Regions from separate parts of the Homo sapiens genome. Here all the other regions are linked to region 2. Evidence: promoter capture Hi-C in 16 types of primary human blood cells and fetal thymus (Javierre and others, 2016). All regions are on one chromosome and are shown on one strand. Each heading gives the region's core, a stretch centred on a gene start or on the middle of the fragment in contact. The rest is flanking DNA. Distances are from core to core; before and after follow the strand shown.

Region 1 (2,700 bases), core at 15-2,514, 800 kb before region 2:
TATATCTGTATATATATCTGTATATATATATCTGTATATATATATATCTGTATATATATATCTGTATATATATATCTGTATATATGTATATCTGTATATATATATCTGTATATATATATCTGTATATATATATATATCTGTATATAATATTATTTATCCACATGTGTGTATTTGGACACCTAAATTAAAAAGGTAATATTGTTGGTGCAAGTGTTCCCACTTTTAAAAATGTAATCATAAATTTGGAGGTTATCATATTTATTCAAAATAAATTCACCACCTTTCATGTTCTCACCTACCAGGTATGTTTCAGTGAATGAGTATAAAATGTTGGGGTTAAGGTAGAGAGACTTATGAAAGTGTTAGGGGGTACTGCTTGTATTAAGTCAGAAATGGAGAAGTTCCAATGGATTACTTGGTATTGCTGTCCAGAAACCTGACTCTCATACCATTTTGGGGGGAAGAGAGGTTTGGGACAGCAATTAATGAAGCATATCCATATTATCAAAAGGCATTTTTATTTATGAAATAGGAATAGAAATAACTGAAAATGTCTCTTTGCAGTGCCTTGTGTAAAGTATAGAATAACATAATTTCTGGGCATCATCTAAGCTCACAGAGCCTTAGGGTTCTGAAGTCAGCTACCTTTCAACTTTTCCATTTAACTTACCCTGGCCTCCATATTTTGAAAGCAGGTTGTCTATCAACATATGGCGTTTATTAAGTATGACCTAGTTTTTCCTCTTTACATTAATCAAAGATAGCCATAACTCTTTCAAGCTTTAGATTAGCATTAGGTTGCCCCCATGACCAGAGCTGATTGATAAAATGAATAGTTATGACATTTTAGTTCTCTTTGCACCATCATCTTAGGAAAATGTGTCATTTTGGGGAGTTTTCTGAAATATTTTAAAAGAGGTGATATACACCAATTCCTTCTCCAGTCGATGCAGTTGTTGACCTCTTGCCTCTTACCCCACCATCCCCCGGCTCCTGTATCAGCTGCTAATAGCTTACAGCTGCTTCCTTTTAAGGGAATAACCTTTGGCCGATGGGCACCATCTTGCTTGCAAGGTCATGCATCCTCCTCCCTTGATGTGCGCAGACCATGGCGATTGGCTCTCTGCTCAGGGGATATAGGAGGTCAGCCCCCTGCTGGAATCAGCTCTGTAATGCAATTCATGCCCAAAAGCATCGCATGGGATCAGGCTTATGCAGGGCTCTGGCTGAGAGCCCATCCCCACACAGGTCTTATCTCTGCCTTCTCCTGCTTCCTCTCTTCCCTCTTCTACTGAGAGCTTTTCTCTCCGCCCCAATATTACCTCATGTCCGAGAAACCCCATTTCAACCTCTGCTTCTAGGAAACCCAGTCTAAGACACCTCCCTTCAGAAACACGTGGTTCCATTCAACACTTTTGTTTTTTCTGATCAGACAACTCGGTTCTTATAGAAATGACCTGTTCAAGCTAGTAGGTAGAATAAGTAAAAATATAAGTTAGCTTTTACACTCTCAGCTAAGACTTCATTTACTATCCTTCAAAAAATTGAGAGGGTATACAAAGTTTAAACATCATTTTAAATAAAGAAACAGATTCAGAAGATTTTCTGTTACTTGAATTTAGTTTCTAGCTCCTGATGACTTCAGTAAAAAGATTTCAATTCTTGGACCTAGTAGGTAAGCACATCATGCTCCCTCATTGTTGAGAATTCAATGAAATGTGAAAATATGCACTGTTCAGGCAAGCTTGAAATAGCTGTAGGGTAAGTGGGCAGTAGCTGGAGTGAGAGGACATCATTAACGACAGTACTACATGGCAGGTCTAGGAAGAAGGCAAGGGAGCCCCAATAGTTCAGGTATCAGCCAACATTGGATTTACTCAGCATGCAACTAGTGGAGCTACACCCCAAAAAAGCTACATCCTCCAGGACCTGCAATCCTTTGTATATTTTAAAAATGTAATTTGTGTATGGTTTCAAAGAGGTGAGGGGAGACATTTTCCCTGATGGTAAAGAGGGTTGGATAAAAATAGTTATACTTATTAGCCAATATGTAAAAAATGCCCAGAAAGGAACAAATGTAGCATTTGTAGATTGTTTTCATGTAAATCACTGTCTGCATAGGTGCTGAATCTGTTTCTTTCTTTAAAAAGTACTGATTTATTTGCATTTCCCTGATCACTAGTGATGTTGAGCATGTTTTTCATACGTTTGTTGGCCAGTTGTATATCTTCTTTTGAGAATTGTTTATTTATGTCCTTAGCCTACTTTTTGATGGGATTGCTTGTTTTTTCTTCTTGCTGATTTGTTTGAGTTCCTTGTAGATTCTGGATATTAGTTATTTGTCAGATGTATAGGTTGTGAAGATTTTCTCCCACTTTGTGGGTTGTCTGTTTACTCTGCTGACTGTTCTTTTTGCCGCGCAAAAGCTCTTCAGTTTAATTAAGTCCCACCTATTTATCTTTGTTTTTGTTGTGTTTGGTTTTGGGTATTTGGTCATGAAATCTTTGCCTAAGCCAGTGTCTCAAAGGGTTATTCCAATGTTATCTTCTAGAATTTTTATAGTTTCAGGTCTTAGATTTAAGTCCTTGATCCATCTTGAGTTGATTTTTATATAAATGAGAGACGAGGATCCAGTTTCATTCTCCTACATGTGGCTTGCCAATTATCCCAGCACCGTTTGTTGAATAGGGTGTCCTTTCC
Region 2 (2,700 bases), core at 123-2,622:
AGTTAGACCACTGCTTCAGGATTCTGTTAAAACGCAGATGCCGACTCAGATCAGAGATGGGACCTGGGATCCTTCCTTTCTCATGAGCTTCCTGGAAGATGCAGTTCTGGGGAGGATCACACTCGACCTTAAAGAGCTAGAAGATTGTGGAAGGTTTAAGGACTGGAGTGTGTCCTGTATTTTCCTAATGTACGTTGTGCCTTCCCTTCACTAAATTCCGGTAGAGGTAAAGAATTCTGAGTAATGCAGTCATTCTACGATAAGGCAATAAGGTGTTTCAGGATCAATTTTCTCTAAAGAATAGTTATGTGAATTAAAAACATCTTCCCTAATCGTCACATCAAGGACTCACAGGTGTTGTTGGCCAGAGACGATACACCAAAACAGAAAGAAAAAGCCCAAACCAGAGGCAATTTGGAGAGCTCCACCCCTCCTCCCTGTTTTGTCTAAGGTAGAGACATTCTCGCAGACGCTCCTTTGTAGCCTCAGAGAAAGTAAATCTCTGCCCTTAAACTAGGGGACCTGGAGAGCCTTCAATCACGAAGTCAGGGATTCCTCCAGGCTTGGTTATTAGGATTAGATAAGGAAAACACCGTTTGGGGAGAGAAAGAATTATCAGAGTCCTTTAAATCTTGGTGGGCATGGCAGGCATCTTGGCGGTCGTTGAAGCTGCTTAAGTCTGAGCCAAAGGTGCCAGAGGACAAAACAGCCACCTGCTCACGGCCCCCTATGTGGAAAAAGCTTTCCAATTTAGCTCTCTCATTTTAGCATCTCAATCTGCACATAAGGCACGCGGGAAACTCAGAGAGGTTATGCTACCTGCTCAAGGTCACACAGCCTAAGGTCAACTGAGGATATGAAAGTTCCCCAGAGTCATAGTCCAGCTTTTCCTTTAGATAGCACTTCTTAAAAAAACCAAAGGCACGCCTTGAAAAGCTGCGGGATGTCCAGCCCCAAAATAGCCGCTGGAGTTGGCCCCTAGGGGCAGCTGGACCGCCCAGGCGGGCGAAAGGGTGGAGAGGGAGAAGAACCACTTCCGGGAAACAGACGCGAAGAGGGTAAGGCACTTCCGGGGCACAGAAAATGAGGATTATTAAAGGTCAGTTGCTCGCAGGTAAGGGCCAAGTAGCGTTAAAAGACACGTAAGGATTACAACGCCTCTCTAGGGTGTGGGTTAAAATGTCTCTCTAGGTACTCGAAGATAACATGACTCTAAACGAGGAATCCTTGCCTGCGCTGGAGGACGCTCCGGTCTAGCGGCCAGGTTGAGTCCAGAAGTTTAAATAGAGCAGGCGGGGCCTAGCGGGCGCCTTCGTCGGCGCGATGACGTCACATACCTGCGCGGGAGGCGGTACCAACCCCTGCCGCAGGACTTTCCTGGGCCGGCTCGCGGAGAGCGTAGCGCGGCCTTGGTGGCGGAATGGCGTTGAGTGACGGCCCGGCCCCGCCATCTGGTTAAAGGGACTCGTTCAACACGGAAGTGTCCCGGGGCTGCATTGGTACGGAGCCCTGGGGCCCAGCAAGGGTGTGCTCCTGCGGGACTGATGCGGGGACCACCCCGGCCCTGCCGGCCTCCAAGCCGCGGGAGGGCACTGAGCCTGTGCTGGCTGGGCCTGGCCGCCTGGTTGCTACACACCCAACCCCCTTCCCGTCCCCATTTGCAGAAGTGGAATCAAAACTGGGGCTTGACCCCGGATCGATGACTGGGACTCAGCCTACGCGGACGCCAGCGCAGCCTGCGGCGGCCGAGCCACCTGCCCTCACAGGGCCTGGCCGGGTGCATCAGGAACAGGCGGTCTTAGGTCCCTAAATTCGAGGCCCTGTAATGTGCCTCATCTTGGGGTCCCTGAATGGGGCCCTTGGGCCCCCAAGGAAACCCTGAGACCTTCAGAATGGACAGCCTTGTGGAGGCACAATTTCATTCACTTGGGCAAATTGTGCGCACTGAGGCATAGGAAAACATGTAATTTTGTATTTAGATGTGTTCCAAGTATAAAGTGGCGTGGCTGACATTTCATAGAGCCTTAAATTGCCTTCACCAGGCATGACCTCAGTTTGTGTTGAGATACTTGGCAAAGAAATGTATTGCATTGTTGAGTGATTGCTTATTGCGTTACTGAGTAATTGTATTGGCGTTCATAAAAGCATGGGTGCTCACAATAGAAATTGGGAAGGGGAGTAGGGAACTGTATTTGAAATCTTCTGATACACTTACCAAGAACAAATGTATTGTTCATTTGGAATTTGATACGGTCTCTAATAATTTTCTGTTTCATAATGGTAGTGCCGCCCCCACCCGCAAAACGTTTCAAAGGGTCAAGAGAAAAGACCAAATGCCCTTGTCAACTGGAATTTATACGTCTGTTTCCTGCCAAGTAATTAAATCGTAGATTCATAATCTATGTACCGAATAAATGTGGAATGTTTTTGTTTTGTTTTGTTTTAATGTATAAGACTTGGGTCAAGGTGAGGAGGGAAAGAAAGGGTTTCCTTGAAAGATTCTTGTGTTTAATTAGAATTAATTGAAACCACTGTGCTTAAAACAGAGAATGATGTTAGAAGAAAGCCTTGGAACGATGATCAACATAAGACTACACAGTATGTGGGATAAACTATTCCAACTTACAGCATTTTTGTTTTTTGTATTGCCAGTGCTACAGCTAGAATGAAGCACATCAACCTATCATTTGCAGCGTGTGG
Region 3 (2,700 bases), core at 165-2,664, 830 kb after region 2:
CTTTTCTGTAGAGACAGGGCCCTACTATATTGTTCAGGCTGGTCTCAAACTCCTGGGCTCAAGTGATCCTCCTGCCTCAGCCTCCCAAAGTGCTAGGATTACAGGAATGGGCCACCACACCTGGCCCAGTTTCTGTTTCTAAATGTGTGGTGGTTCTCCTGTGGATTTCTAAGTCTTTAGGAGTATAGGATAATGAACAAGAGAAATCCTTACCTCAAGGACCTCTCGATTCAAAGGAGAGGAAATGAGTAGATAAATGACCACAATGGGTTGAATCAAGTCACTGTCCCTCCGGGAGGGGTGTGCTCACAGCATAGGACAGCACTGTGGAGCTGCACAGACAGGCTTTGAGGGGTGTTAGGTGCCAGCACTCTCTGCACACTGCAGTCAGGACGAGGGAGTGGGGAGGGCAGTGACTTTTAGGTGAGCATCCAGGTGTAGAGCGCTGCCAGCTTGCCCCGAGTCCCAGCACCCGCTCACAGCCTCCTGGCGCCAGTAGTAGAAATGGTTGCACAAAGCAACCAATGAGAAATACTTTCAGTTTTCCATCTGCCACACAGAGAAGGTAGGAGAGGCTTGCAAAGGGAATAGCATCCAGTCCTTTTGTTACTTGGGCATGGAAAGTTGGGGTTTTCCTTTTGATTGAGTTCTGGGAAGTCAGCATGAATCAGCTTTCGGTTCCCTGCCTCCAGACCCTATTCTCCTGCTTCAGTATGATGTCCCTAGAGTTGTCAAATCCATAGAGGCAGAAAGTAGAATTGTGATTGCCAGGGGCTGGGGGAGGGGGATGGAGGTTTTAGCATTTAATGGGGACAGAGTTTCACCTTGGGGAGATGAACACGTTCTGGACATGGATGGTGGTGATGGCTGTACAACAATGTGAATGTACTGAATGCCACAGAATTGTACACTGAGAAATCATTAAAACAGTACATTTTATATTGTAGGTGTTTTACCACATACAACAATAGTTATTCTTTTTCAAATGGCAAGAAGCCATTCAAGGATTTTGGAGTTGTGTTTTGGCAAAGCTCCTGTGCAGATGAGGTAGAAAGCCTGTAGTGAGTAGACACAAATGTGGTTTTTCACATAAGTGTTGTGGATAAGTGCATCTCCTTATCCCCAACAGAATCATACACTCTTATCAGGGAAGACAGGTGTCTCTCATACGCCCCAAGCACCTGGGTCATGGGGACTTGGGCCCAGTGTCATGGGCAGGTTTGAGTGAGGTCAGGAGTACCTCGCACCACGCCTACTCTCTTGAGGTGGTTTCTGCACCACTTCTATACGGTGGGACCTTTCATCTCCATAGCATGGTAGACACAAGAATACAGGGAAAGTCTTACTCTCTCCTTTCTAGAGGATTCCTTAGAGAGTAGACTGTAAGAGCAAGACTTTAATATTTGAGACTATTGACAGAGACACCATCAACAGAAACTCCTCACAACAAAGCTCTAGCCATAAAACTGAAATTTCTATGAAATATTTGCAAAAAAAAATTGACAATAGGAAACTATGATATTTTATAGTAAGTAGTCCACAAATTAGGTTAAGAACTTTAAAATTAGTTTGGGATTACTATAACTTAAAGTATTCTGTTATTTTTGTCTTATTGTTGAATGCATAAGGCAAAATGAATCCATTTTTGATGTGAGTTATTTAAAAGAAGAATACTTTTCTGTTACCTCTTATTTGTGAAGAAATTGAAAACTGAAACTCTTTCCCAATCTTTATATCATTTGCACTTTTATGTTTGTTTTGTGACGTAGTCAGGGTTGTTCTTATTTGCATTATGTAGGTGAGGATACAGGTTCAGAGAAGTGAAACGGAGAAGGAGAAGTTTGACCCTGGCCTTGTAGGCCATTACCAGGCTGCTTTTATTGAGAACCTCAGGTATGGCATTCTCTACGATGAGTTAAATGCCTTCTTCAGATTGGGTTTTATAATACTTGTGCTTGTTTAGGTAAGAGAATTTACATTGTTTAATCACGTAGAGAGCTATAGTAGAAAATCAGGAAAATTGAATGAGCTATTATGTTAACATTTCCTAGTTTGTATCTTTTCCTTTGGCTATTAATCATAAGCTATTTAAATAGCTGTTTTATACATTTATTTTGTAGTGATAGATCCTTAGAAGTAGCAACCCGAAAAGTGATTCAAAGTAAATGAAATTAGTACTGTAAGCAGCTTTCTGGCAAATCAAAGAAGACACAAAATCAAATATTTTTCTGAGGATGGTCAGTATTTTGAGATAGTTGGTCAGGTTCTCCAGATCTTAAGAAAGCCAATGAAAGAAAAAGTCCATTTAAGGCCGGGCGCGGTGGCTCACACCTGTAATCCCAGCATTTTGGGAGGCCAAGGCAGGTGGATCACTTGAGGTCAGGAGTTCGAGACCAGCCTGGCCAACATGGTGAAACCCTGTCTGTATAAAAATACAAAAAAAATTAGCTGGGCATGGTGGCGGGCGCCTGTAGTTCCAGCTACTTGAGAGGCTGAGGCAGGAGAATTGCTTGAACTAGGGAGGCAGAGATTGCAGTGAGCTGAGATCATGCCTCTGCACTCCAGCCTGGTGACAGAGTGAGACTCTGTCTTAAAAAGAACGAATAAAAAGTCCAGTTAAATGTGCCTTCCCTTTGAGTTTCCAGAGCTTTCCACATTCTAGTGAAACCTAGGAGACCTGAGTTACCACAGTCAAGTGGT
Region 4 (2,700 bases), core at 154-2,653, 760 kb after region 2:
CTGAGGTCAGGAGTTTAAGACCAGCCTGGCCAACATGGTAAAACCCCGTCTCTACCAAAAAATACAAAAAAAAATTAGCTGAGCATGATGGTGGGCACCTGTAGTCCCAGATACTGGGGAGGCTGAGGTGGGAGAATTGTTTGAACCAAGGAGGCAGAGATTGCAGTGAGCTGAGATCGAGCCACTGCACTTCATCCTGGTGACAGAATGAGACCCTATCTAAAAAAAGTTCTGCAGTGAAACAAAATGAATACCCACAATCTGTGGGATGAATGAAGACTTTTCACTTTATGTTAGTTTTATGTTAGTTGGTTCGAGCTGGTGTCACTGCCAAGTATGTTAGAAAAACTCTGGGTTTTCAATGTTTTTCTTTTCTATTTTTGGTTATGGACAAAGGATTGCAAACCTACATTTCTGAAGGCAAGATTTGAAAAGAAGTGGTAAAGTCCTGTGGGCTGAGAAGTCAGGTACTGGAAAAGCCACCTATGCTGAACAGAACCTTGGCCAAGTCACTTGGATGTGGATAGCTCCAGAGTTTCCTCATAGGCAGAAGAGGTGACAAGTTGAGACCCAGGGAATGCTTGCCCAATGACCCAGGTCAAACCAGCTGTGACAAGCTCTAGCAAAAACACAGAGCTGCCTGGCCAGCTGGAAAAAGAGCTGAGAACAGACTCAAAACAGTGATCTCCACACCTCTTCTGTGATCCCAGATGCCGGTTCTTATCTGTTTCCAATTTGGTGATTCTACACAAGAGACAGTTTTGCAACCCAAGAAACATCTGGTGATATCTGGAGACAAGCTTGGATGTTATAACTTAGCAGTGGGTGGGAGGTGCTGCTGGCATCTGCTGGGTGGAGCCCAGGGATAATGCTCAGCACCCTATGGTGCACAGGACAGCCACCACCAGAGAGTGACCCAGCCCCAAATGTCTGCAGTGCTGAGGTTGAAAAACCCTGCTCTAAGTAAGCTCTGTCTCATGCATTTTTTTTTTTTTTTTTTTTTGAGACGGAGTCTTGCTCTGTCGCCCAGGCTGGAGTGCAGTGGTGTGATCTCGGCTCACTGCAACGTCTGCATCCCGGGTTCAAGCAATTCTCCTGCCTCAGCCTCCTGAGTAGCCGAGATTACAGGCGCGCGCCACCAGGCCCAGCTAATTTTTTTTTTTTTTTTTTTTTTTTTAGTATAGACGGGGTTTCACCATGCTGGCCCAGCTGGTCTCAAACTCCTGACCTCGTGATCCACCTGCCTCCGCCTCCCAAAGTGCTGGGATTACAGGCGTGAGCCACTGCGCCCGGCCAGTCTTACACATTTTAAATGCTTATTTCAGGCCAGAGATTGTCATCCGGGAGGATGATTTTACCTACCAGGAGACATTTGGCAACATCTGGAGATATTGTGGGTTGCTGCATCCTACCACGCACTGGATAGCCCCTACAGCAAGGAATCACCCAGCCCCACGTACCAACAGTGCCTCCGTGGGGAATCGCTGGATAGACAAATTCATTGTGAAAGAGAACGTCCCAGTCTCTATCTCTAAACTAAAAATCTCCCAGTCTTGGAACCGCCAAGAGGAACCCGGGACCCTAAGCCATCTCTGTTCCATCCCCCTGGGCTTTCTCCCAGACCTCACAGTTGAAGGTGCTTCTCCTAATTAGCCCTGTGCCAAGTCTCTGCCCTGCACTTCCTTCTCATAATAAGCATTTAATTATTATTGACATTGGTACTTGCAGTATTTATACTGCTTGTTTTCCTTCACAGAAAACACCTGAGGTGAGACTGGACTTCTGCTTCATCATTGCCACATCCTCTGTTACCTGTGTCCCTGGGGCACTGGGGAAGTGCTTGTTGACTCAGTGGCCAAGTTTGACAGGGGTTAATTTCCAACCAAGGCTCGAATTTTAAGGAGAAGACAAGATGGAAACAAAACAATGGTGACAGAACCTGGTCTAGAAAGCATGGCTTAGGACTTTTGGCCATAAACTCTTAATGCTTATTTTATTCAAGCTTTTAAGGGATGCTCAACATCTACTATTTAGGTTTTTAATGCAAAGAGGAGTCATTATTATCTTTTTTTCATGCACTGAAAGCTTTTAGATTTCTGTCTCCTGATATCAGCTGTGATGTGATAATCTCATTATAAATGAATATGGGGCAATTTCTCAGTTGGCAAATAGTAATGTCACTATAGATACCAACTCACAGGGTACTCAGTAAAGCATTGTCATGTGTTCCTTGAGACAAAGAGTACCTACAGTAAATGACACGAAATGGAGCAAACTTTCTGTAAAATAATTTTAACACTTTTAGTGATATTATTTTCAGTGAAAATTATTTCTAACATTCCTCCAACTCAATCTGCTCGGGTTGGCACAGAAGACAAAACTGATGTGTACATGAAATATGTTGATACTCTGATAAGAAGTAAAGTAAGCATGAACTGGACATCTTAATTCATTATAATTGCTCATAAGATAACAGAGAGTTTACTTGAAAGAGATCAAAGGAATTTCTTAGCATCTCTCTTTGGGGAAAAAATCATCCATTTGGTTGGTTCATAATTACTAGATTATGTACAGCATGCATTGCAAAAGTTAAATTGTTTTTGGATGTTCATTTTCTGCAATTAATATAAATTTTCAGAAAACACTAACTGATCTCTGAACTACATACCCATTCTTCAGTTAACCTAGTTCTTTTATAGA
Region 5 (2,700 bases), core at 105-2,604, 810 kb after region 2:
GTTTTGGAGTGTTTCCTGCAAATCACAGTGTCTTTCTGCTATACATTGGGATAAGAAAATATATACATGAATTAGATCTGGTAATGGCAGGCCTTGAGAATAGAGCAAAGGGTAAAACCCAAATATGTCAGCATCCAAGCCCACATAAGTGTGACAGTTCTCCAGACTGTGTTAAAGTTTCCTGATTGTATTAGGACATATTGTATTGCTATAAAGAAATGCCTGAGTCCACGTAATTTGTAAGAAAATGGGTTTAAATGGCTCACAATTCTGTAGGCTATACAGAAAGCAAGCCACTAAGGCGTGTGGCTTGTGTGCCTACAGAGCACCAGGATGAGCTCCCTTTGAGCCCTGGCTGAAGCAGGAGCAGTGGGGATGAGGGGAGCAGTGTCCTGAGGCAGCTGGGCCCTGGGCGTGGCTCAGGAAACCACCCTTCTCTTCTAGGCCCCTGGGCCTGTGATGAGAGAGGCTGCCTTGGAGACTTCTGAAATACCTGTGAGACCTTTCCCCCACTGTTTTGGTGTCAGCACTTCCCTCCTTTTTAGATATGCAAATTTCTCTGGCAAGTGGTTGCTCCACAGCCTGCTTGAATTCCTCTCCTGAAAAAGCTTTTTCGTTCTCTGCCACATGGCCAGGCAGCATATTTCCTAAACTTTTTTGCTCTACCTTCCCTTTAAATATAACTTCCAACTTTGTCATTTCTTTGCTTCTGCATCTGAGCGTAGTCTGTTAGAAGAAGCCAGGTTACACATAGCATGCTTTGCTGCTTAGAAATTTGTTCTGCTAGATAACCTAAAGGATTACCCTGAAGTTCTAACTTCCACAGAACCCTAGGGCATGAACAGAATGCAGCCAAGTTCTTTGCTAAGAAATAACATGTGTGACCTTTCCTCCAGTTCTCAGTTTCTCATTTCCATGTGAGACCTTGTTGGCCTGGACTTCACCATCCATATCACTATCAGCATTTTGATCACAACCATTTAACTGTTCTCTAGGAAGCTGCAACTTTTCTCTCATCTTCCTGTGTTCTTCTGAGCCCTCCAAACTCTTCCAACCTCTGCCTGTTACCCAATTCCAAAGTCACTTCCATATTTTCAGGTATCCTTGTAGCAACACGCCACTTCTGGTACCAATTTTCTGTATTAGGCCGTGCTTGCATTGCCTTAAAGAAATGGCTGAGTCTAGATAATTTAGAAGAACAACGGTTTAATTGGCTCACATTTCTGCAGGTTATACAGGAAGCATAGTGGCAGCTGCTTCGGGGGAGTCCTCAAGAGGCTTACAATCACGGTGGACGGGTAAGCAGGAGCAGGCATGTAACATGGCAAAAGCATGAGCCAGAGAGAGAGTTGGGGGGAGGTACCATGCACTTTTAAACCACCAGCTCTCATGTGAACTCAGAGCAAGAGCTCACTGATCACCAAGTGGAGGATGGCCCAAGCGAAGGATCTGCCCCCATGATCAGTATACCTCCCACCAAGCCCTGCCTCCAACATTGAGGGCTACAATTCAGCATGAGATTTGGGAGGGAATAAATATATAAACTCTATTACTGACCAATGCAGTTTCTCCTCATAAACACTGACCTGATGCAGGGTCTTTTTGGCGTAGAGGGGGCATGGAGATTAGTTCATTCTGATTGGTCATTACCAAAGGCTGGGCAAGGGCATGTGGTAAGGGATGCAGGAGTGCCTGTGGAATATAGAATGGTGAATGAGGCTGAGCAGGGCAGGGGTCCCAGGGCCCAGAGAGAAGTGCCTGGCCCACCATCCACCTGGGAACATGCTAGGGGTTTGCTAACGGATGGCCAAGGTGGCTGGGAAGAAACCAGGAGGCAGGCCAGGGTAGGAGGGCAGCCACACTCATCCCATGAGTCTAGTCGGCAGCCCAGGGTCCTTGGCCAGCTCAATGACTTATCTCCTTTAAGGGACTTGATTGTCTCAGGCATGCCTACAGAGTTTCCACCGCCAGCCAGAGAGCCAAAATGTTTCCCAAGCCAATCCCATGAGATGCCTCACTTCTAGTGAGCCACCCCCAGCCCCCACAACAGCCTCCAGTCAGGGCCCACCTGAAGCCTCCCTTTTCCAACTGTAAAGCTTTCCCAGCTCCCCAACCTGCATTTGAGCTTCTGCCAAAGGCAAGTGCTGGTGTCCAACTTTCTTGCTATGCAATCTCTGAATGAATAGCCTCTGCTCGTTCTCATTTGAAGAGATTTTCATTTACCTTCACACATGGACAGTTATCTTTATAACTTAACTCAGTGCCTCCTCATTTACCAGAATCTGGTCTTTTCGTGGGCTTCTCTTGTCTTCCCGCAAATGTAATAATGCCTTCCTATGACACTAGGATGCTTTGAGCAGATAGACTCTTCCAGTCCATGCAAAGAGGTGGTGTGGTTTGGCCTCACTCCTCACTGCAGGCTTAGGCCAGCTCCCCCTTGCAGCCACGTGCGTGGACGTGACTCTGGGAGTGAAGTGAAATAGCGCTGCCGACAGGATCTGGGCTCTGTGCTGTGTGCCAGGAGCATAGAGAGCAATGTGAAACAGCTGTTGCCCACAGTGACCTTTCAGAACAGTTTTTGCTGTTAGGGTTCTAGGGATTACTAAGTAAGCTTGGCTGGTTAAGAAGGTCAAAAAAAGCCCAAGGCAACCCCAGCTGTCTGAACTAGCCATTTCAGAAGGCTGAAACCTTTCTGCTGTG
Region 6 (2,700 bases), core at 132-2,631, 820 kb before region 2:
AGAGGTTCTACTACCATCTAGTGGTGAAAGGCCAGGGTTGTTGCTAAAAATCCCACACAGAAGACAGTCTCCAAGACGAAGAGGGATCCTGTCTAAAACGTCAATGGGGTTGATGTTGAGAAACCATGAGTTTCCCATTATTTTAATCCAATTACCAGGACTTTTCTGAAATCTACTATTTGAATTTAGGGAAAAGTATTCTTCTTGTTGATTCTCTAACCTGGAGGCATTCAAATCACCAAGGTGCTTTAAACAATACTGACACCAAAGCCACCCCAGACCAATTAAATGTGGATGTCTCGCAGTAGGGCCTAGGCCTCTGCATTTTAAAATTCCTAATAGTTTTTAGCATTGAGCAGCACCCATTTAAATGATATAATGTAGGCCGGGCGCGGTGGCTCGCGCCTGAAATCCTAGCACTTTGGGAGGCCGAGGTGGGCAGATCACGAGGTCAGGAGATCGAGACCATCCTGGCTAACACAGTGAAACCCCGTCTCTACTAAAAATACAAAAAATTAGCCCGGCGGGCTAATTAGTGTGGCGGGCACCTATAGTCCCAGCTACTCGGGAGGCTGAGGCAGGAGAATGGCGTGAACCCGGGAGACGGAGCTTGCAGTGAGCCGAGATCGCACCACTGCACTCCAGCCTGGGCAACAGAGCAAGACTTCGTCTCAAAATAAATAAATAAATAAAATAATGCAGGAACTCAAAACCACCCACAGTTGATTTATCTTATCCACACTAAAAGTATCCACAAATAAAATGACACAATTCTCCAACTTAAACCAGAATTTAACAGCTGTCATTACTCCATAAGTTCCTATGTACTTGTTTATATTTTATAAAAGAAGATTTTCTTTCACTTAAAGAAAAATCCACATTAAAAAACAGAAAAGAAAGTTTTGGAATATAATAAAAGTATTTCCTTCTTTGTTTTGACAACTTTGTGGCAACCTTCAAGTTCTAAGTCCATTTCTTTATAGTGAATATTTCAGTGACTCATCAGAGAGGCAAGCTAATAATAATAATAATAATAATAGTTCACCTTATGTAGTATTTCATGCTGTTAGTGTGTGAGATTGCAAGTCTAAATCAAAGCCATTATAATTTATCTGTAATTAGAAACCAGCACTTGCCGAGCAAGGTGCTTGTAATCTCAGCACTTTAGGAGGCTGAGGCAGGCGAATCACTTGAGGCTGGGAGTTCAAGACCAGCCTAGCCAACATGGAAAAATCCCATCTCTACCAAAAAATACAAAAATCAGCCAGATGTGGTAGCACCTGCCTGTAATCTCAGCTGCTCAGGAGGCTGAGGCAGGAGAATCGCTTGAACCCAGGAGGCGGAGGCTGCAGTGAGCTGAGATCACGCCACTGCGCTCCAGCCTGGATGACAGAGCGAGACTGCATCTCAAAAAACAAACAAACAAAGAACAACAACAACAACAACAATAAAACTCAGCACATAAAAATGCCTGTGGATTGAGAATTTTAAAATCGCTTTTAGAATAATTAGCGGTGGGGGGAGGGGGGAGGGATAGCATTGGGAGATATACCTAATGCTAGATGACGAGTTAGTGGGTGCAGCTCACCAGCATGGCACATGTATACATATGTAACTAACCTGCACAATGTGCACATGTACCCTAAAACTTAAAGTATAATAAAAAAAAAAGAAGAATAATTAGCTGTGGTTTGAACTTAAACAGTCTGCTTTTTTACTTGGATTCTTATTCACTTCCCTTCACTTTAATTACAGTGGTGCAAGTATTATCTCTCTCTCTCTCTCCACCCCCGTCTCTTTCTCTCTTTCTCTCTCTCTCTGTCTCTCTCCGTCTCTCTCCGTCTCTCCCCACCATGTGCTCAGAACTTTCCCGGAATTAGTTACGAAGTTAGAAATAAACAGAAGTTGACTTATCATATTACTGAATAGTCTCCCAATAGCATTTAAAAAGCACATTTAACAGGAGTCTCTCCTGAAACTCACCCAAGTAATTGGAAAGTAAATGAGTCTTAACAGAGATAAAAGAATACAATTCAATAAAAGTAGCAGAAAACCTCAAATGACTGACACAGAGAGATTTCCCACATATTACTTCCCAATATTGCATTACTTAAAATTTGCCCAAATTACCCGTCTGCACATTCCAGAGCTCACCAACCTGTAGATATAAGGAAAGACATATTATTGTAGTAACTATTTTTCTAGCTTGTGGTGCCTTTTAAAATCCTCTGAAATCTCCTTATAGCTGTTTTATACCCACACTTACTCCTATGTGATCTCATTTGGCCCATTTTATTTTGAACATTATGCATATAATGCTGATCCTGAAATCCGTGTCTCCCAGGAGAGTGAAAAACTATAAAGAAAGGCATTCCCTCCCTGCAGACAGGCACAGTGAGCTCCACAGAAGGCCAGCCTCATTCTTATGCCTTTGCGTCCTCATAGCTTAGCTCCCACATATCAGTGAGAACACACAATGTTTGGTTTTCCATTCCTGAGTTACTTCACTTAGAATAATAGTCTCCAATCTCATCCAGGGCACTGCAAATGCTGTTAATTCATTGCTTTTTATGGCTGCATAGTATTCCATCATATATATATCACAGTTTCTTTATCTACTTGTTGATTGATTTGGGTTGGTTCCACAATTTTGCAATTGTGAATGGTGCTGCTATAAACATGTGTGTGCAAACATCTTTT
Region 7 (2,700 bases), core at 191-2,690, 870 kb after region 2:
TCCAAGAGCTGGTGTCAGCTGCTCCTGCTGTCAGTGCCGCAGACACTTGCAAGTTTCCCTCCTCACTCACAGCCCTCACTTAGTTGCCTTTAAACAGGGGCTGCCTTTGAAAAGATTTCTCAGGTGTGAAGGGACACCATGGGGCCTGCATTTCCCTCCACTGCAGACCCCCTGTATTAGTCCATTTTCACACTGCTGATAAAGACATACCCAAGACTGGGTAAATTACAAAGAAAAAGAGGTTTAATGGACTCACAGTTCCACATGAATGAGGAGGCCTCACAATCATGGCAGAAGGTGAAAGGTATGTCTTGCATGGCAGCAGGCAAGAGAGAGAATAAGAGCCAAGCGAAAGGGGTTTCCCCTTATAAAACCATCAGATCTTGTGAGACTTATTCACTACCATGAGAATAGTATGGGGAAAACTGCCCCCATGATTCAATTGTCTCCCACCAGGTCCCTCCCACAACACGTGGGGATTCTGGGAGCTACATTTCAAGATGAGATTTGAGTAGGGACACAGCAAAACTGTATGACCCCCTTTAGGTGAGTGCAGGTGTATTGGGTGCCTTCCATTATCTCTTTGGGAACAGCCACAGTCAGCTACTGATTTCCCGTCCCACACACCTGTCTTGCTCCTTGGAAGCAGCCTCACGCAAATAGAGAATAAAAGCTGCTTTCACAACTTAGCCAAGCAGTGTTACCCCAGGGGATAATCCATCTCTTCCTCTACCCCAGTCCACATTTCACAGGTGGACCCTGCACAAAGCTTCAGAATCCCCGGAGAAGGTGACGGATATTTTGAAATGTCATTTGACATTTAAGTGCCTATCTCTGGTCCCAGATAAAAACAGTGGAGGGCATTTAGAATACAATCAAGTCATAACTTTTAAAAAGGCAAGGGCAGAAATATCATGAACAGGTAGTCACTGAATGAGATAACAGAGAAAACCAACTTGGACAGTCTAAGTGGAGTCATTTCTTCTCGCGTCCTACGGTGACCAGTGTCTCACAGGAGAAAGAAACCAGGGGGCATCAGAGGCTGTTGGAAGGGAGGTGTTGGGACGGACTACTGTGGCTTGCCTGGGACTGTCCAGGGTGTAGCACGGAACATCCTGCCCCACAGCTGACCCTTCAGTTCCAAGCAAACCGAAACAGCTGGGCCAACCAAGTTCCCTCTGTGAAAGTAAGGTAGCATTCACATTCCATTGTCACATGGATTAACTCACTTAATCCAGGGTTCAGCCCTGTTGGGATAAGTTGGCTAATATGATATTTTAGCCCCAGATTGAAGGAAAGAATGGGGTAATGGAAAGAAAAAGGGAGGGAGGGAAAAAGAAAAAAGTCATTGTGCTGGCTACAGCACAGACCACTAGTAGTTAAGACTGTGTGTGTGTTTCAGTGTTTTCTACTGAAAACGCCAAAGAATGCAGAGCTTCTCTTTCAGACCTGGCATCAGGCTTCCGTGAGCCCTTTCCAGGACACCAGTGCATTGAGTCGCTGCTATATACCTGGTGATGAGCCGAAGAGGACATTTTCATAATGAAAGGCAAAGGGGGCCAGGTGTGGTGGCACACACCTGTAATCCCAGCACTTTGGGAGGCCGAGGCGGGCAGATCACTTGAGTCCAGGAGTTGGAGACCAGCCTGGCCAACATGGTGAAACCCTGTCTCTACTGAAAAATACAAAAAAAAATTAGCCGGCTTGGTGATGCATGCCTGTAGTCCCAGCTGCTTGGGAGGCTGAGGCATGAGAATTGCTTGAGCCTGGGAGGTAGAGGCTGCAGTGAGCCAAGATCGCACCACTGCACTTCAGCCTGGGTGAGAGAGCAAGACTCTGTCTCACCAAAAAAAAAAAAAGAAAATGCAGAGGGACAAAGGAGACAAAGAAGAGATGAGTGGAGAGCTGAAAGGCCCCACCTCAACAACTCCTGGAGTTCTAGGCCACATGTGGAGAAGAGCAGGGGAGACTCCTCAGCATAGGTCGCCATGGCGAGGACCTCTCTTCCCTTACAGATGTCTGGGCCTCTGCAGAGTCTCAGTTAAAAAGCATCAGTACATCTGTTTTCACATGAAGTGTGTGCCATTCTAGGAATGCAGGGAAGAAGCTTCCTTCCTAAGTGTATGTCTTCCTGAGAGGGTCGGTGATATGAAGATAGCACATGTGGATTATGCTTGTTTATACTATGGAGCAGGCTCTGGGGTGTCTCCTTTGGAGGGAGCCCTCATGTGAAACTTACTGTAACATTGTCAATGTGGTGGCACCTTTAGGAGCTCACTGATAAATGCAGTGTACAAACACCCCATTTTATGTATTGGTTTTTCTTTTAGTACTTTATTTTTTTCCTTTTTAATTTTAATTTTTATTTTAATAGTCTGTAGGGTACAGGTGGCTTTTGGTTACATGGATAAGTTCTTTAGCAGTGATTTCTGAGATTTTAGCACACACGTCAACCGAACAGTGTGCACTGTACCCAGTATGTAGTCTTTTCTTCCTCACCCCGCTAGTCCCCAAAATGCATTATATAGAATTCTTATGGCTTCCCATCCTCATAGCTTAGATTCCACTTATAAGTGAGAGCATACGATATTTGGATTTCCATTCCTGAGTTACTTAGAATAATGGCCTCCAGCTCCATCCATGTTGCTGCAGAAGACATTATTTCATTCCTTTTTATGTCTGAGTAGTATTCCATGGTGT

The links. Contacts are between HindIII fragments. The CHiCAGO score rates a contact against its expected background, and 5 or more counts as called.
Region 1: a contact is called between a fragment that was not itself captured here and the fragment with the promoter of PNPLA4 in region 2, in 1 of 17 cell types (M2 macrophages). The highest score is 5.1, in M2 macrophages.
Region 3: a fragment that was not itself captured here is called in contact with the fragment with the promoter of PNPLA4 in region 2 in 1 of 17 cell types (naive B cells); the score reaches 6.2 in naive B cells.
Region 4: a contact is called between a fragment that was not itself captured here and the fragment with the promoter of PNPLA4 in region 2, in 4 of 17 cell types (total CD4 T cells, naive CD8 T cells, non-activated CD4 T cells and 1 more). The highest score is 7.5, in total CD4 T cells.
Region 5: a fragment that was not itself captured here is called in contact with the fragment with the promoter of PNPLA4 in region 2 in 1 of 17 cell types (naive B cells); the score reaches 5.6 in naive B cells.
Region 6: a fragment that was not itself captured here is called in contact with the fragment with the promoter of PNPLA4 in region 2 in 1 of 17 cell types (M2 macrophages); the score reaches 5.6 in M2 macrophages.
Region 7: a contact is called between a fragment that was not itself captured here and the fragment with the promoter of PNPLA4 in region 2, in 1 of 17 cell types (erythroblasts). The highest score is 5.3, in erythroblasts.

Annotation. Positions count from the first base shown.
Region 1 is chrX:8,722,957-8,725,656 of GRCh38, reverse strand. The region is part of intron 1 of ANOS1 (anosmin 1); the gene reads left to right. Among named protein-coding and RNA genes, the nearest start is that of ANOS1, 7.8 kb to the left of the region's middle. The HindIII fragment of the contact is 964 bases long and covers 783-1,746 here.
Region 2 is chrX:7,926,085-7,928,784 of GRCh38, reverse strand. PNPLA4 (patatin like domain 4, phospholipase and triacylglycerol lipase) reads left to right here and starts at 1,372. Exons shown (of 7, transcript NM_004650.3): 1 at 1,372-1,499; 2 at 2,653-2,700. The coding sequence starts at 2,666. LOC107985675 (a long non-coding RNA gene) reads right to left here and starts at 1,285. Exons shown (of 5, transcript XR_001755784.2): 1 at 1-1,285. RefSeq lists enhancers at 765-844, 1,185-1,234, 1,255-1,494, 1,725-1,954, 2,617-2,666 and a silencer at 2,643-2,700. The HindIII fragment of the contact is 3,086 bases long and covers 744-2,700 here.
Region 3 is chrX:7,091,250-7,093,949 of GRCh38, reverse strand. The region is part of intron 2 of PUDP (pseudouridine 5'-phosphatase); the gene reads left to right. Among named protein-coding and RNA genes, the nearest start is that of STS, 55 kb to the left of the region's middle. The HindIII fragment of the contact is 5,428 bases long and covers 1-2,700 here.
Region 4 is chrX:7,161,360-7,164,059 of GRCh38, reverse strand. All of the region lies in intron 1 of STS (steroid sulfatase), which reads right to left. Among named protein-coding and RNA genes, the nearest start is that of PUDP, 15 kb to the right of the region's middle. The HindIII fragment of the contact is 1,202 bases long and covers 803-2,004 here.
Region 5 is chrX:7,115,564-7,118,263 of GRCh38, reverse strand. The region is part of intron 1 of PUDP (pseudouridine 5'-phosphatase); the gene reads left to right. Among named protein-coding and RNA genes, the nearest start is that of STS, 31 kb to the left of the region's middle. RefSeq lists enhancers at 1,409-1,908, 2,125-2,234, 1,909-2,410. The HindIII fragment of the contact is 1,488 bases long and covers 611-2,098 here.
Region 6 is chrX:8,746,359-8,749,058 of GRCh38, reverse strand. No RefSeq gene overlaps it. Among named protein-coding and RNA genes, the nearest start is that of ANOS1, 16 kb to the right of the region's middle. The HindIII fragment of the contact is 4,113 bases long and covers 1-2,700 here.
Region 7 is chrX:7,051,194-7,053,893 of GRCh38, reverse strand. The region is part of intron 3 of PUDP (pseudouridine 5'-phosphatase); the gene reads left to right. Among named protein-coding and RNA genes, the nearest start is that of STS, 95 kb to the left of the region's middle. The HindIII fragment of the contact is 1,338 bases long and covers 772-2,109 here.